Linked DNA regions of Homo sapiens: regions 1, 3, 4 and 5 are each linked to region 2. Evidence: promoter capture Hi-C in 16 types of primary human blood cells and fetal thymus (Javierre and others, 2016). All regions are on one chromosome and are shown on one strand. The core of a region is centred on a gene start or on the middle of the fragment in contact, and the rest is flanking DNA. Distances in the headings are between cores, read along the strand shown. Region 1 overlaps TSC22D1 (TSC22 domain family member 1). Region 2 holds the start of SMIM2 (small integral membrane protein 2). Region 3 overlaps TSC22D1 (TSC22 domain family member 1). Region 4 has its middle 25 kb from the start of LACC1. Region 5 overlaps TSC22D1 (TSC22 domain family member 1).

The links. Contacts are between HindIII fragments. The CHiCAGO score rates a contact against its expected background, and 5 or more counts as called.
Region 1: a fragment that was not itself captured here is called in contact with the fragment with the promoter of SMIM2 in region 2 in 12 of 17 cell types (M0 macrophages, M2 macrophages, M1 macrophages and 9 more); the score reaches 9.2 in M0 macrophages.
Region 3: a fragment that was not itself captured here is called in contact with the fragment with the promoter of SMIM2 in region 2 in 1 of 17 cell types (M2 macrophages); the score reaches 6.3 in M2 macrophages.
Region 4: a contact is called between a fragment that was not itself captured here and the fragment with the promoter of SMIM2 in region 2, in 3 of 17 cell types (M2 macrophages, M1 macrophages and erythroblasts). The highest score is 5.8, in M2 macrophages.
Region 5: a contact is called between a fragment that was not itself captured here and the fragment with the promoter of SMIM2 in region 2, in 7 of 17 cell types (erythroblasts, M2 macrophages, endothelial precursors and 4 more). The highest score is 9.9, in erythroblasts.

Annotation. Positions count from the first base shown.
Region 1 is chr13:44,430,956-44,433,958 of GRCh38, reverse strand. It overlaps TSC22D1 (TSC22 domain family member 1), which reads left to right. Exons shown (of 3, transcript NM_183422.4): 3 at 1-1,816. Among named protein-coding and RNA genes, the nearest start is that of TUSC8, 26 kb to the right of the region's middle. The HindIII fragment of the contact is 4,737 bases long and covers 1-3,003 here.
Region 2 is chr13:44,159,601-44,162,779 of GRCh38, reverse strand. It overlaps SMIM2 (small integral membrane protein 2), which reads left to right and starts at 1,523. Exons shown (of 3, transcript NR_197392.1): 1 at 1,523-1,635; 2 at 1,849-2,177. RefSeq lists an enhancer at 2,392-3,179. The HindIII fragment of the contact is 6,510 bases long and covers 1-3,179 here.
Region 3 is chr13:44,471,248-44,474,441 of GRCh38, reverse strand. All of the region lies in intron 1 of TSC22D1 (TSC22 domain family member 1), which reads left to right. Among named protein-coding and RNA genes, the nearest start is that of TUSC8, 67 kb to the right of the region's middle. The HindIII fragment of the contact is 2,108 bases long and covers 197-2,304 here.
Region 4 is chr13:43,903,272-43,906,244 of GRCh38, reverse strand. No RefSeq gene overlaps it. Among named protein-coding and RNA genes, the nearest start is that of LACC1, 25 kb to the right of the region's middle. The HindIII fragment of the contact is 1,159 bases long and covers 696-1,854 here.
Region 5 is chr13:44,451,451-44,454,643 of GRCh38, reverse strand. All of the region lies in intron 1 of TSC22D1 (TSC22 domain family member 1), which reads left to right. LOC124903167 (a long non-coding RNA gene) reads right to left here. Exons shown (of 4, transcript XR_007063778.1): 2 at 3,141-3,193; 3 at 1,817-2,008. Among named protein-coding and RNA genes, the nearest start is that of TUSC8, 47 kb to the right of the region's middle. RefSeq lists enhancers at 1,628-2,127, 2,128-2,629. The HindIII fragment of the contact is 1,439 bases long and covers 1,132-2,570 here.

The sequences.
Region 1 (3,003 bases), core at 1-2,500, 270 kb before region 2:
TATTTTGTACAATAGAGGACTGTAACTACTATTTAGGTTGTACAGATTGAAATTTAGTTGTTTCATTGGCTGTCTGAGGAGGTGTGGACTTTTATATATAGATCTACATAAAAACTGCTACATGACAAAAACCACACCTAAAGAAATTTTAAGAATTTGGCACAGTTACTCACTTTGTGTAATCTGAAATCTAGCTGCTGAATACGCTGAAGTAAATCCTTGTTCACTGAAGTCTTTCAATTGAGCTGGTTGAATACTTTGAAAAATGCTCAGTTCTAACTAATGAAATGGATTTCCCAGTAGGGGTTTCTGCATATCACCTGTATAGTAGTTATATGCATATGTTTCTGTGCATGTTCTCTACACAATTGTAAGGTGTCACTGTATTTAACTGTTGCACTTGTCAACTTTCAATAAAGCATATAAATGTTGATAAACAAGTGTTTTTCATATGACCCTGTTAACATAATGGCAGTCATTTCCACAACTGTTTCCAGGTAAAGTTAACAATTTGACTAGTAAAATCCTGAAGGGCAGTGGAATGATTGGAAAAGTAGGGGCGTGATTTGACTGCATGAAGTAAAAGGAAATTGACACATTGAGTTGTTCAGCAGGTAAGAGAAGAGACAGTGGAGGAGTCCAGCTCAATTCTAACTACTGTGTGACTTGGACAGGTTGCTTCACTCCTGGACGGATGTAGGGGTTTGAAAGAGATGATCTCTTACATTCCCCTTTGGCTTTAAAATTCTAGGAGTCCTTGAAAATCTTAATTTTTTACTGAACTGAGAGGAAGAAGGAGCCTTATTCTGTGTATAATTGGAATAAGCAGATCTAGGATCAAAAGACGGAAGTTGGAGAAGCTGATTTCCACTTTAAGAACCCTGTCACCCTGGGTTGGGATGTTTCTCCTAGTGTAGGATGAGTTTCTAGCTCCTGGGATAATTCGTTTTGTCTAAGCAAAAGATGATTTGAGGTGGGACCAGATGAGCAAGGATGTCCTTGCAGTTGATTCTGCATGACTATAAAACAGGCCAAAATTAAAACCACGAAGGAATCCTGAGGCAGATTGGCCCCTGGCACCTGAGGAGTGAGCCTGAGGGATCCCACTCTGCAGTAGGAGTAACGTGAGCGAGCAAGTGAATGGGGTGGGTTTACCGGCTCTGTAATCTATCAACCTAGGGCCTCAGCAGTGGCCCCCTGCCCAGTAGGAATTGGACCAATCCCAAGTTCTAAGGCTTGTCTTAAGTCCTTGCAGAACAAGGACAAACTTTCTGAATCATTCATTTCTCTCATCTAGAGCTGGTGGGAGATTGAGAGGTGAATGGGACATCCAAGATCCCTAAAAAGAATTGTTCGATAGCGTGCATGTGTTATAAAGTGGTGACACGGGCATCCTGTTGAAATGATGGATGGCTCACTGCCATAGGCTGATAGCAGTTGTCATAAAGATATTTTGGGGGAATTTGAAAAGGACGTAAAGAAAAATCTTTCATATTGGCTTGTTGGTTATATAACTTCAAATTTAATAAAGGAATACTTACGTAGTAATTACATTTCCTTGAAAAAACTATAGTGAATAGAAATCCCTAGCCATTTCATTTTTTATGTTTTTAATGAAGATCTTTAAAATACCATAGGTGGTAATCGTGGAAAATTTGAAAAATCTCATGTCAGTGTATTAAGATGGTGGAGAAGTTTTTTTCTCCATTATTTAATGGAACTTTGGGTCTTTTTATTAAAAATGTGAGACTCATGAAATTTTGGCAGCTGAATATTTGTGAAATAAGAATGAATTATTAAAAGATGTCTTTCCATACATGTTCCTCATTTTAGTAATTACTAAACATACTTGAGATGATTGACTTATATTTAAACATATTTAAGGTAATTTAAAAAGGCATTTTGCTACTTGCTTATAGACCTGAGTGTAGGTCTTATTGGCCTGTGGGTTATTATATAACTGATTATGTTGCACTTATGTTCTGTGGAGAAGGAAAGATTTTTAAGGGGAATGGCATGCTGTACCAGCACTGAGTGTTCATGACATCAGTTGCAGCAGGAGAAACCCCCGTTCAATGAAGGAGAAGTAGGAATTTTACATGGATTTGAATGAACGTCTACTTTGTATTTCAAATGAACAGTGTTCATATTTCAGTAATTGTGTGCATTTTTTGCATACTTTAAAAGAGAACTTTTATTTTTCATTATGGAATAAATATGCAATGCCAGAACAGCTTTAAATTTATACAAGAAATGTATAAAAGTTAATTATAACTAAAATTAGGAATGAAAATTAATCTATATAGACACTACTCTGCTCTTGCTTTGTGTAAAATAAGTAGTTGAAACTACCAGGGGCTGACAACATGACTGCTTTTAGATGTCAACTTCAAATCCATTCAGGCAGCAATTGTGGCATTACGATTTTTAGAAATGGAGGCAGAGAAAATCAAGTTTCCTCTCCCTCTTAGGTAACATTGCCTGCAAGTGGAGATCTGTGCCCACCGATAGAACTTGGAAGCAGACAGTGCCATAGGTTCCTGCACTGGTGTGTGGGAGGACCCTGAGCTGAGAGGCAGGCTTCTGGCTGCTAGGCCTGGCCCTGCAGTCATCAGCTGTTTGACCTTTGGACCAGGAATGGAATCCTTCAGACCTGAGTTCTCACCTGTGAAATAAGGATTGGATCAGGTCACAAAGATCCTGTCTTGCCACAGATGCTACAGTCCTCTGCATCTGATAATGACTTTATTTTATTCTTCGAACTTTTGGTGGGAGGGTGTGTGTGTGTGTGTGTGCGTGCACTGTTTTTGTTTATTCATTTAACTTAATGGCTAAAATTAATTTGGTTTTAATCCTAGCTCCTCTGCTAGTTACTAGCTAAGTGACCTCAGGCAAGTTCCTTGTTGTTCTCTGTTTCCTCATGCTTAAAATGGGGACATGCTATCTCCATAGGGGTTTTGGGAGGCTGATGCTGGGAAGCTGTCAGCACAGAGACAGTTCAGA
Region 2 (3,179 bases), core at 274-2,773:
CTGTTCTTATGGATTTCTGTACCCTCCATAGAGAATGGGGTCAGTGGGGTCTTATCCTTGAGCAGCCGTGTCAGAAGTGGGAGCCCTGGGCATAGAGCCTTAGGGACTTATGGAACATACTGTGTCCTCACTAGGCTGGAGCAGGGACTATGGTTGTGGATGCCATAATTGGTCTGCTTTGGAAAGGGCTTCCTTTATCTCCACCAAAGAGATATCACCAAAGATCTGGGGGCAGCTTGGCCAGTCTATGTGCTGACTCTCTGCTGGAGCTGTCTCCTAATCAGGTCACTGCTAGAGTTCCTCTTCCTAAATGTCCCAGTGCCATGACTTTGGTGCTCTAGCTTGTGGGATTGAATCAATCTAAGAGTCCAGAGTCTATGAGGACTCCTTCTTCTCTATTGTATGCTGCTGTCTGAAGCTAAATGCTATTGTACAAGTTTTGTTGCTGTTTAGATTTTTTTTTGTTCCCAGATTATTGTTCCAAAAATAGACCTACGATATATTCTTATACATTTGAATTTAATTAAGAACCTTTTTCTCAATGACATAAATATGGTTTTACTATTTCCAGCCAGGCCAGACAAAGATGCCTGAAGACAGATTTCTAAATGATGCTATGTGCCAATTTCTCTGATCTTTTTAATATTGTAACTAAGGGGCCTTGCTCTGAGATGGTGGTTTACGATTTTGACATGCTGTCCTGTACCACTCTCTGATCACAAGGGAATACGTAGAAACTCACCAAAGCAACTGCTGTCAGTCATCAAAGTGGAGCCACATTGTCCCTTCTAACCTCATAAGGATCCTTATGGGATTCAGGATGATCACATTTTCAGTGCTCTAAGGACTGTCTCCGTATGACCCCAGCCATACCATGCCCATTACTGATGTATTTGACCTGTTGAGCCTCCAACAGCATTGCAGACTCCACTTTTTGTGTTCCAACAGGACTAAGGCCAGAAGCGAATGTCCTATTTTTTCCTGCCATTTCTCTGCTGAGCAACAGTTCACCCTTGAAGCTGCTGCTGCCTAAAGAACAGGAGAAGATTCAGGAATGCTAACAATAGTTACCTACATATCGCATGCCCTCTGCCCTTGCCCATTGTAAGAGCCTCACCACTTGGATCAGTAAGAGTCCACACTTGCTCAGTACATCTTGGTGCTCACTTCAGCTGTGGGCTCTGATTTAAACATCCAGCTCAGGGGATGCCTCTTTGGTGCATGTCATAATCAGGAGAAGAATGCTGGCTTTGGATTCTGGAACTGACTCCATTTGTAGTGAAGAGTTTGGAGAGCATCAATAATGGGATGGCAACATTCATTCATTCATTTATACCTCTAACCAGTCTTTCCTCACATACTGGTTGAGTACTCAATACGTGCCCTGTGCTTAGCTGAGTACTGTTCAATGGTGAACAAAGAAGACATGGTCTTAACTAGAAGTTCCTATTTCAACAGAGTAGCCCAAGGAACTTCAACCACTTTTGCTACAGGTGTATTAGTTACTGCCAAGAGTCTGTAAGTGTTCATGGGCCTCATTAAGCTCTGCCTTCCTTCTGCTTTTTGGAGCCTGGCCTTTGGTTGGCCTTGAATGAAGAGTGGGGCCCCAAAAGTACCACTGTCAGCACTCTCCAGGTGAGTATTATCCTGGGAGAGGCCAGGGCATGAGGAGGGCCAGGGCGTGGGGCCCTCTGAAGGCTGTGTCATCCCAGGCTTCAGCCACAGAGGTTTTATTACGGAGGAAAGCTGAGCTGTGAGCACGTTGCTAGGCTGTGGCTATTTATTTTTATAAACGAGCCTTGTGCTTAATTTAGAAACCTGCTTTTTCTTTTTCTTTCTTCTTTCCAGCATCATCTGGCTGTCTGGCACCATCAAAGAATTGCATTTCTGACCCAAGAAGAGCTTATGGGTGGATGGGGGTGGGATGGAAGCTGGGGAGAGGATTGATGCCAGCCAGCTGCCTCACAGGGTGCTGGAAACACGTGGCCATGCCATTAGCATCCTGTTCGGCTTCTGGACGAGTTTCATCTGTGACACCTACATAGTCCTCGCTTGGATCAGCAAGATAAAAGGCAGCCCTGATGTTAGTGCCTCCTCTGATGAGCCATACGCCAGAATCCAGCAGAGCAGAAGGCAATGCCACGCAGAAGAGGACCAAAGTCAGGTGCCAGAAGCAGGTGACATCTCCACTCTCAGTTCTTTGGAGGCAGCTATTTTAATAGAACCACTTTACTGCAGCTATTTTGACATGAGGATATTTTGGTATGGCTCAAAGATTCAGCCGATAAATGTTCAGCTTTTTAAAAAATAAATGATGAGTAAAATAGGCATCTTGCAGGCCATCTGTGAGCTTCACCTCAACCTTGATCTTCACCTCCCCCCCTCCATTGTCAATCTTACCTCCAGGCATCAAGGGTGTATGGATTGGTAACAGATGAAGGAAAGGACTGGTAGAGGTTCAAAATGAAAGAAATAGCAGGTCAGGACTCCAGGAGGGTTGAGGGTCTTTTAAAGTAAAACAAAACAAACAAACAAACAAAAAAACAGGGTCAACCAAATTCAGAAGTCAGGTAGAAGTCAGAGAAGGAATGAAAGATGGGAAACTGGTTATAAACCAAATACAGCGAGTCTGAATTTTGGCTTGTTTTGAGGCTGCTGTATCAAAACAGTTGTGTTGGAAGAGCTGCATGAAATTGTTGGGCAAGAAATAGTCCACTCATGATTCAGATAAGCTCATTTTGCCTCTTCCATGGTCGATTTCTGACTCATAAATGTCTATACATTTCACTTTACGGCTTATGTGAGCCTCAGTTTCCCCACATAAAATGCAGATGATGATGTTGGCCCTTCCTCTTTCCCCACCTTTTGCTCTCCTTCCAAGTGGCATGATGAGGAATGAGCCAGCATCTTGTAAACTGCTCCAGGCCACCTGGAGAAATGTGCTTGCGTAAATAGTCGGCATTAGTATACGTGAGTCTTCCATGAGTAAAGAATTTCAGAGTTGGCAGCCGTCTCTGCCTGGTGATTCATGTGGGCACGATGATGCCCTTAGCTACAATGTATGGTGTGGGTGATGAATTTGTTCTTGTCACAGCAGAGGACTGAGTATTCTTTACCCAAATGCTATAGATTGAGTTTGCACATGGGAACTAGATTAGCTCTGAAGAGAGTTGAAAGGA
Region 3 (3,194 bases), core at 1-2,500, 310 kb before region 2:
TATTTTTGTTCTCTTTGAAGTAATGAGTCATCATAAATAAATTGGACCACTGCCCCTTTAAGTAGAAACTGCCTTAGGGGACAGATGGAATTTTGGGACTACTTCCTGAAGCACTTGTTTGTCCACCAGGAGTGTCAGTTGGGCCTGGGTGGGAAGAGAGGCCCAAGAAAGCCACCATAGTCTGTAGCGTGAAGCTTTTCCTATAGTCTAGTGATAATCCTGCTGTGAGTACCTCACTGTAATTCAAATAATTGTGGAAGGAATTGTCTCTCAGTTGTCCTAAGTCCTGCCTAGTACCTTGAAAAGCAGTTGGTTTCTAAATACTCAGCTTGGAGGGTGAAATAAGGTTCAGTTCAGCCATTTTAGTTCTTTGCTTTGTTTTTCCCAGCTGGAAAAATTTTAAAGCTATTTTAAAAATCACTTGGAGGATTATTTGGAGATCATGATAGAAATTTTTTACTGGTTAACTGAGATGAATTGTATAGTCCTTTTTTAGCTTAAGATCTTTAAACATTTAGTTGCATAACAGCTTTTTAATTTGTTGGACTCCTCAGTTGAAGCCATTACAAATTGGCTTAAAATTGTAAAAGATTGAGTATTATATTGAGCCTTTCTATCAGAAAACATTAGCTTAATTAGTCTATAATTAAAGATGATGTTAGCTGTACTTTAGTTTGTCTTAGGAATAGAGGTCCTCAAATTATATGTAAACCATCAGTTGCATGGTTCTTTTGAAATGTGGATTTTTGTGAATGCTTAATAAAGCTGGCCTGACTAGCTTAATTTAAAAATATATACATCTATGCTAAATATATACACACACACACACACACACATATATACTGCTTCTACTGTTTGTATAACTTAAACTGATTTGCATGCTGACAAAAGTACTCATCCAATTGTACAGTTTTATTTTTATTTATTTATTTATTTTTTATTTTTAGAGTCAGGGGTCTTGCTCTGTCGCCCAGGCTGGAGTCCAGTGGCATGATCTTGGTTCACTGCAACCTCGACCTCCTGGGCTCAAGAGATCCTCCTGCCTCAGCCTTCCAAGTAGCTGGGACTACAGGTGTGTGCCACCATGCCCAGCTAATTTTTGTATTTTTTGTAGAGATGGGTTTTCACCATGTTGCTCAGGCTGGTCTCAAACTCCTGACCTCAAGTGATCCACCTGCGTTGGCCTCCCAACGTGCTGGGATTACAGGCCTGTGCCGTTGTGCCTGGCCTCCAGTTGTATAGTTTTAAATGAATGTAAAATACTTGAGTGATTGGTAGATTTAATATTATTTAATAAATTTAATATTTTAAATCTAAAAATGCATTAATCAGTTTGAATAAAAGATGTACATTGGGTCTGCAATTCCGTTTTAAAAAGAGGAATTCCCCTGCACAAGCTCTCTCTCTTTGCCTACTGCCATCTATGTAAGACGTGACTTGCTCTTCCTTGCCTTCCGTCATAATTGGGCTTCCCTGGCCACGTGGAACTGCAAGTCCAAGTAAATCTCTTTCTTTTTTAAATTGCCCAATCTCAGGTCTTTATCCACAGCATGAAAATGGACTACTGCAGTTGTACAATTAGATGTGGAGCTTATTTTGAGAAGAATTTGAGGGATAGAAGGAATGTTCAAAAATATATACCTCAAAACAAAGAAAATTGCCTTTCCTTGAAGATTAGGTCATGGCTCACTGCAGTCTCAACCTCCCAGGCTCAGGCAAAGGCAGTCCTCCCACCTCAGCCTCCAGGGTAGCTGGGTCTACAGGCACATGCCACCACAACCGGTTAATTGTATAGCCAGGGTTTCACCATTTTGTCCAGGGTGGTCTCAAATTCCCGGACTCAAGTGATCTGCCCACCTCAGCCTCCCACAATATTGGGGTTACAGGCGAGGACTATGCTTTTTCATGTTTCCGTTTTAGGGACCTGGTACACATAGCAGGTCCTCATATGTTTGTTGAGTGAGTGAGTGGGTGAGAGGGGAGACAGAAATCAGATATGTCAATGGTTGAGAGTGTCTGAAGGATTGATACCAGTGTGCAAAGTAAAACATGCTGTCTCATATGAAAAAAAAGGAACAGTTCTCAAGTTGTGAGACAAAAGAGATGACCAGTATTTGTTAAATAGAAGAATTCAAAGGATGCTGTATAACAGAAAAATGCCACAGTTTATCTTTGCATTTGTGACCCCTCTTTATTCCAGGGGTCACATTCTAAGACTCCCCATGGATGCCTGCAACTGAGGATAGGATCAAAACCAATATTCAGTATGTTTTTTCCCTATACATACATACCTCTGATAAAGCTTAATTTATAAATTAGGCACAGTAAGAGATTAACAACAACAGTAATAGAACAATTATAACAATATGCCAGCATTACTACTCTTGCACTTTGGGGCTATGAAGTAAAATAAGGGTTACTTGAATCCTCCAATCACTTTGACACGCTGACAGTGGATCTGATAACTGAGACAGTTACTGGGTGACTAATGGGCAAGTAGTGTATACAATGTGGATCTGCTGGACAAAGGGAGGATTTCAGCACATAATTTAACATTTATGACTTATTTCTGGAATTTTCCACTTAATATTTTTGGAGTATAGGTAACTAAAATTATGGAAAGTGAAACCACAGATAAGGGAGGACTCCTGTAATTGGTAGTTTATATTTTCACAGGATAAGCTTTCAATATTTTATTTGTCAAAGGAGACTTAGTCATCACTTAACAATTTTCTAAAAGTAATTATTGTAGATGATGCTCTGAAACTGCCAGTGGTTCTGTATTTTAATTCACTGTTTTAGAACTATTCTCTTATACGTCAATATGATGTTAAGAAACTTAAGTCTATTTAGGTTCATTGAAGAGTCTGAACAATCTAAAAATTATAAGTTTAGTAAAGATATAGAAATTTACCATACTTAATCTCTACTTGTAGTTAAAAATTGATCAAGCAATGCTATCTAGTAAGTTTTGCAGTTCTATTTATTTAACATTCCGGCTATTTAACTGTCAGAAAGGAAAGTGTGATGGTAAGAGTTTATCAAGAGATCCAAGTGCTACACAATTGCATTTCCACATCTTATGTTGGAAGAGATAATTTAGTTTTGACCTGAGAAATAATTTCATTTCAAACAAATTTCAGTGCATTTTAGCTAATGTCAGCATGAGTATTTAATATTTTAAAATAACTTTA
Region 4 (2,973 bases), core at 26-2,525, 260 kb after region 2:
ACAATTTAATTTCTTGGAAGGTTTTCCCTCTCTTCATTGAAGACAATCTTACGTAGAGCAAGTTAATTGGTGCCATTCTGCATTTCAGACAGAATTAATTTAAGTGAAAGAGAACCATATGACTTTGCAAGACTATGTGAATATCTAGAATCTGCTCTATTTGTCTAGGAGGTAGTGCAGAACTAAAGGGGTACATATGGTACTATACAGAAGCTTAAAGGTCTATCTCTTGATTTCACTGTGGAGAGGGTATGATATTTAAGAAACAAAATGGAGAAAGGGAAAAGTCTATCACCAGGCAAGTTCCTTAGAACTAAGAGATAGGTTACAGAAATAAGAGGTAGGATAATAGGTATTTACCAGTTCTCATGCTAAGAGTATTGTTGGCAGAAGAAAGAATATGATTGAGAGTAAATGGTAGGAAGTATATAATATTAACATTATTATAATCTCCATAATCATCTCTAGGGAGGAGCTTGCATTCAGACAATACTGTTTCTTAAGATTCACTACAATGGCTATTTTCCAGATAAAAAAAGTTTGACATCTTTAAATTCCGTTAGATTGAGGCAACTAGAAACAGTAAATATTCTTGAGTACATACTGCCACCCAGTGGATATATCTGTGTGATGCACAAAGCATTTGCGAACGAAGAGGACAAAGAGGTTTTGACTATGATGCTAGTGTTAAAGCTTTGCTTGCATTCAGTGAAGGCCATAGATCCTATGTAATCCCAAACTGAATTACACCACTCATTCAAAATTCTAGACTAGACTTTAATACACATTTTCAAAGTATTCTGATAAATATTACCAGAGGCTTTTGGCAATGGGAGAAAAATATTATGTGTGCTTACCAACACTATAGATACTAACTTCTTATTAATATTAATAAAACTAATGTCAGTGAATTTCCAATAAGATGAATCAGAGATACTCAACTTCTAGTAAGGAAGGAAGAGGGATGTCATAGCAGAGACTAGACAGTGGAAAAATTTGGCAAACACTGCCTCAGTCATATGATCAACAATACTAAGTCATATTGGTAGTATATACCTTGGATATGGTAATCTTGACTGCCTTGGATGCTAAGAACTCTGGCATGAAGTCTAAGAGAATTACACTTTTGGCATAATAATCTTGGATTTCCCTTTATCTGAAAGCTACTAAAGGTTTACTAGAGTGGAAATACACGCAGACAATGGATGGAATTTGGGTCATTTAAATGAATATTGAGACCATATTTATGTAGAGACTTCCTAGGGAGTCCTGGTATTCTGTAGATAAGTCCAATTATATTTGTGTTTCCTAAAAAGGAATAATACAATTTACGGAACTGAAATAACATTGAAAGTCTAAGAAAAACTACTTGTCTGAAACTTTATTTTTTGCTACGTTTATACATCATCTTCTCCAAGAAGTTTACACATCCACATGTGAACACTTCTGGATAGGAAATCTGCTAACTAATGTGTTCTCCATTGTTGGGTATGAGATTTCTTGACCTCACCATACTTACAAGTTAATAAATTAGCCTATCACTGTTTCTTAAATGTTGGCGGAAGACATGAGATAGAAGACTTCATTATTCATGCTTAGCAAGCAGCATGAACATCATATTTGAGTAAGTTCTCCTTATGTCCCATGGAGGCACCATAGAAGGGTCCAGGTATATCTCGTGCATATAGTGGATTTGTGTCTTAGGAATACTGAGCTTGGGGAATCCACTGCTTTTATAATAAGCAGAAAGTAAGGTGGCTCTTTTTCCCAAAGTGGGACCTAAACTTATCCCTTAAGGTTGCTTTCTGCAAACACAATCTTGAAAAATGGTGGCATTAAAAAAAGGTCAAAGCTTTGCATTCTTGGTATGCCCAGGAAAAAATGCTCTGGGAGGTTTAAGGCCTATTGGCAATTGTTTTTCCTAACATTCATACAAAGCCAAAATCAGCCTTCCTATAATTTCCACTAATTGGTTCTGTGTTTTCCAATCTCTTTGGTATTTTGTATGTCAGACACCTGCAGTGTGCTATGTTATGCCACTGAGATTTATTTTCTCCATGCTAATCATTTCTAATCCCTTTGAGACCATTCCTCCATGATCATATATGGCTTTGGGATCTCTCACCATTAGTATTGCTTTCCTCTGAACTTGTTTAGGTGTTACTTCCCAAAATGGACTATGATATTGCAAGTATGGACCATAAACTGTTATTTAGCTATACATTTCTATTCCACTCTTATGCCAGTGGATGGAAACTATGTAGTTTTTCATTAAAGGAATCATCATGCCAACCAGATTCCATTTAATATAACGGAAAATCTAAGAGTAAACTCCTTCTTTTAAATAGTTGTTGTTTAGCAGTTCTAGTAGAAAAGTGTTAAGTCATTACTGTCTGTATTTTGCAAATTATGGACCTCCTGTATATGAACTGTTTGTTTTCCATGTTAATATATATGGCATATGACTCCCATATTCCTTTTTGGGGGGCAGGGGAGGGGTGCAGCATCTCACTCTGTTCCCAGGCTGGAGTGCAGTGGTGCAATCATGGCTCACTACAGCCTCGACCTCCTGAACTGAAGCAATCCTCCCAGCTCAGCCTCTCAAGTAGCTGGGACTACAGGCATGTGCCACCATGCTAGGCTTTTTTTTTTTTTTTTTGTGGTAAAGTTGGGGTCTCGCTATATTGCCTAGGCTTCATATTCTTTGTTCAAATAAGAATCCAACAGTCACAGGCTTTTGTTTTCTCCTCCAACTCATGCACATAGAAGAGTAGGGGATTGACAATGTTTGTCTTCTGCTTTAACAAAGAAAACTGACATGTATATTTACTTTTTCAAAAACAGAGATATTACTTTAGATATTATTATGTTTAATTTTTTAAAAATTATGACCAAGTTACAAACATACAGAAAAGTATGGAAAACAGTATAATGAAGCTCCAGATGCTCATCACTCAGATTCAACAATTAAAG
Region 5 (3,193 bases), core at 602-3,101, 290 kb before region 2:
TAGTAAACAAAACTTCTGCCTTTGTCTAGTATGTTTTAGTGGAGGAAGGAAGCCAATAAACATAGTAACTAAACATAGTAAATATAGTAACTAATTAAATGGGAATGATTTCAGGCTGGAGAAGAATTGCCCCTGGTGTGGGAGTAGAGGATGAGGAGGAGCATAAGAGTTTCAGTGGTGTTGATAACGTTCTTAGTTTAGCGGGGGGCAGTTTGTGGGTGTTTGTTCTACCGTTATACTTCCTAACTTACATAGATGTTGTTATATATGTTTACATAATGTAAATACTTCATTAAAAAAATACTTTCTGTTCCAAGCATACCTCAGTGTTAAAACAGGTTAATCACTCATTTAATTTAGTTATCCTGATTAGGTAAGAAACTTGGTTTTAAAGAAAATCTCTTCATATAACATAACTGGTCTTCCCCTGCTGTCCCCCTCCCCCAATCTAATGTATTAAAGCCAAAGTTTTTTTAGAATTAACTCTGTTTTTACTAGCAATATGTATTTGAGGTATTCAGTTTTATGTGTTTGTGCAGCATTACCCTAACTTGGGTTACGTAATAGGTGATGGAACTTATGCTTTGTCACCAACATCATTTTAATGGCCTTTGTAAAACATCTTGTTTTATTCAAAATAATGCAACTGAATTTTTAAATATATGTAGTATTTAATTTGGGTAATGAAACAAAGGAATTCATTCCCTCTACACCAGACTAAATTAATCCTTTATGTTTTAACTTTACCTTCAAACCAATGCAAAATCATTAAGTAAAATTGAAGCATCTTCAATTAGGAGCATTTCTTATTAGAAACATACGTGTAATACTCTGATAAATCTGTATATTTTAGATATAAATTGTCTGAAGGTGTCTAGCCATGATGACTAGAAGTAACATTTACTATTTTAAGGACAGGTGTCAGTTTTTTACTAAATTAATTGAACTGCGTATTTCTGGGGTGTCTAGAAATAGCCCACTTTTTGGTTCTGCTAGATTATTGAGTCATGCCCTGTACCAAAGCCGACTGACTTGAGTTTGGATCTTGGCTCTGCCATTTGTTAAACATATGTCTCCTTGGGTAAGTTGTCTGACCACTATCAGATTTGTTTGTGTTAATGAAAATAAGCTTTATTGCATCAAGTAATAAATACATATAAAGATATAAACAGTTATTTTCTTCCAGTTTTGATCAACTTAAAGTATGCATAACCGAAATCTACTGATAGTTTGAAAATTTTGGGTGTTCCTTGTTAAGTTTGGTAGGTTATTCTGCTGTATTTATAACTTGTGCATTTTAAAAATTGACTTCAGTGCACTAATAGTCATGCATATGTTTATGCAAAAAAGTTATATTAAGCAGAAACGAGGAGTGGCTACTAAGTGCGCTGTTAGTATGCATTGAAACAAAATCCTTATGGTTGTATTAGCTTAACAGAACAGTTTGGGGCACAGAAACATATTCAAAGGAGAAGGTTAAAGGGAGACACTGGTATCTTAGAGGCAAACTAGTTTGCTGAGATAACTTTACATGCACCTTTTAAATCAATGCTTAAAAAATAACTTGGGTAATTCCTAACTACTGAAAATGTAAATTCTAATTAACTGCAAAATCTTTTTTCAATCTGTGAGACTGTAGTTCAGAGCCAGGTGAAACATGGGAGGAAAAACCAACCTGTTAGCATTTTGAAAACAAGAGTTTCATCGAAACAGGGGAGGTGAACTGTAACTTCTCATCTTGTAAAAAGATGGAAAACCTTTAAAGCCAAAAGCAGCAAGGATATGGCACTCTGTTCGGTTTTAGCCAAGCACTTACCTTACCAGCTTTCTAGAGTGAATAATGCCTCGATTTAGTCTCTTTATTCTGTTCTTACTCCACGTAGGCAGGGTTGATCTCTCCCCAACTCTTCACTGGGGCTCCTGGCTGTTCCCAGCTCCCTGGGTGTAGCCTATGGATAGTGGCCCATGGTCACTCAGCAGCTGGCGGTACTGGGGGGGCATCACCAGGCTGTCAGAAGGCAAGCAGACGTCCCTAGAGTGTAGCCAAGTTACTTTGTAAGACATACTCACCCTTCCCCATGAGTAGCCCAGCCAGGCCATGAGGACAGTGGTGGCATGGGGCCCTGTGAGGCGCAGAGGCCCAGGCTCCCTGTGCTCGGGCTCTGGGAGCACTGGCAAATATGATTGCCCTCACCCTCGTGCCCACTGTAGGGTGTCATCCACACATTAGGCAGGTGGGCGGGCACAGAGGAGGCCATAAACTTCAAGCAGACTTTTTAACTTTAAAATGAAGAAAAGAATGGTACCTACCGCCTCAGAGTAGTAAAGATTAACTGGGGTATGAGTGTGCGGCAGTTTCCTTTTTCGAGTAGTTGCCACCAACTCTGCCACTCCTTTTTGCTATACATTGGGGTTGCCTTACAACATCTCACTTTATTTAGTTCCATGACTTGTTAGTTACTTCTCGTTACTTAACCTCATTTGGGTTCTTAAGGCTTAGTTCTGTTATTTGATAGCTTTATATCGTGTTTTGTTCAAAGTTCTCCTCTTCTGTCAAGTCGGACTAAGCTTGTGTCTCTAGCAATTTGGAATTGACATGAGAGGACCTGGATTGTTTCCATCTATATCTGTCCCCTGCCTGCTTTCCTGACTGAACAAGTCCCTGATGTGGGGCTGGGAGCGCAAAAGTGGGAAAGGACAGGGGTGTCCTTGCCAGGGAGCCCTTGGTGAGTTTGCAGTCCTCTCCTCGGTCAGCCATGGCGGATGTCCTATTGGTGATCGGTGGGATAGATACGGGCATGCAGTGGCCCCAACAGCCCCACAGGTAAGGGGCTGTGCCCCCTATAGCTCACTGGGGTCTGCTCAGCCCCTGACATGATATGGCCTCATCTCACAGTTGATCCTCAGCGTGTGGCTTCATGCCGCATTCTTCTGGATCCCCTCCAGAGCCATTTGCTTAAAGTCTCAATTCATTGGTGAGAAATATGCATGTCATGGTTTGTTTTTATTTCTCCTAATAACTGCTATTAATTGTGCTCAGTTGAATCACCCTTTCACTCTGGTAGCAGGCTTCCTTACTAGCATGTCGACCCATTTCCATCGCTTTCCAGTTAATTTTGGTCATTTAAACAGTCACTTACCATTTTTTAAACACTTCGTTCTTTGCATTTTGAAATTTGACTCTCATGTCAGA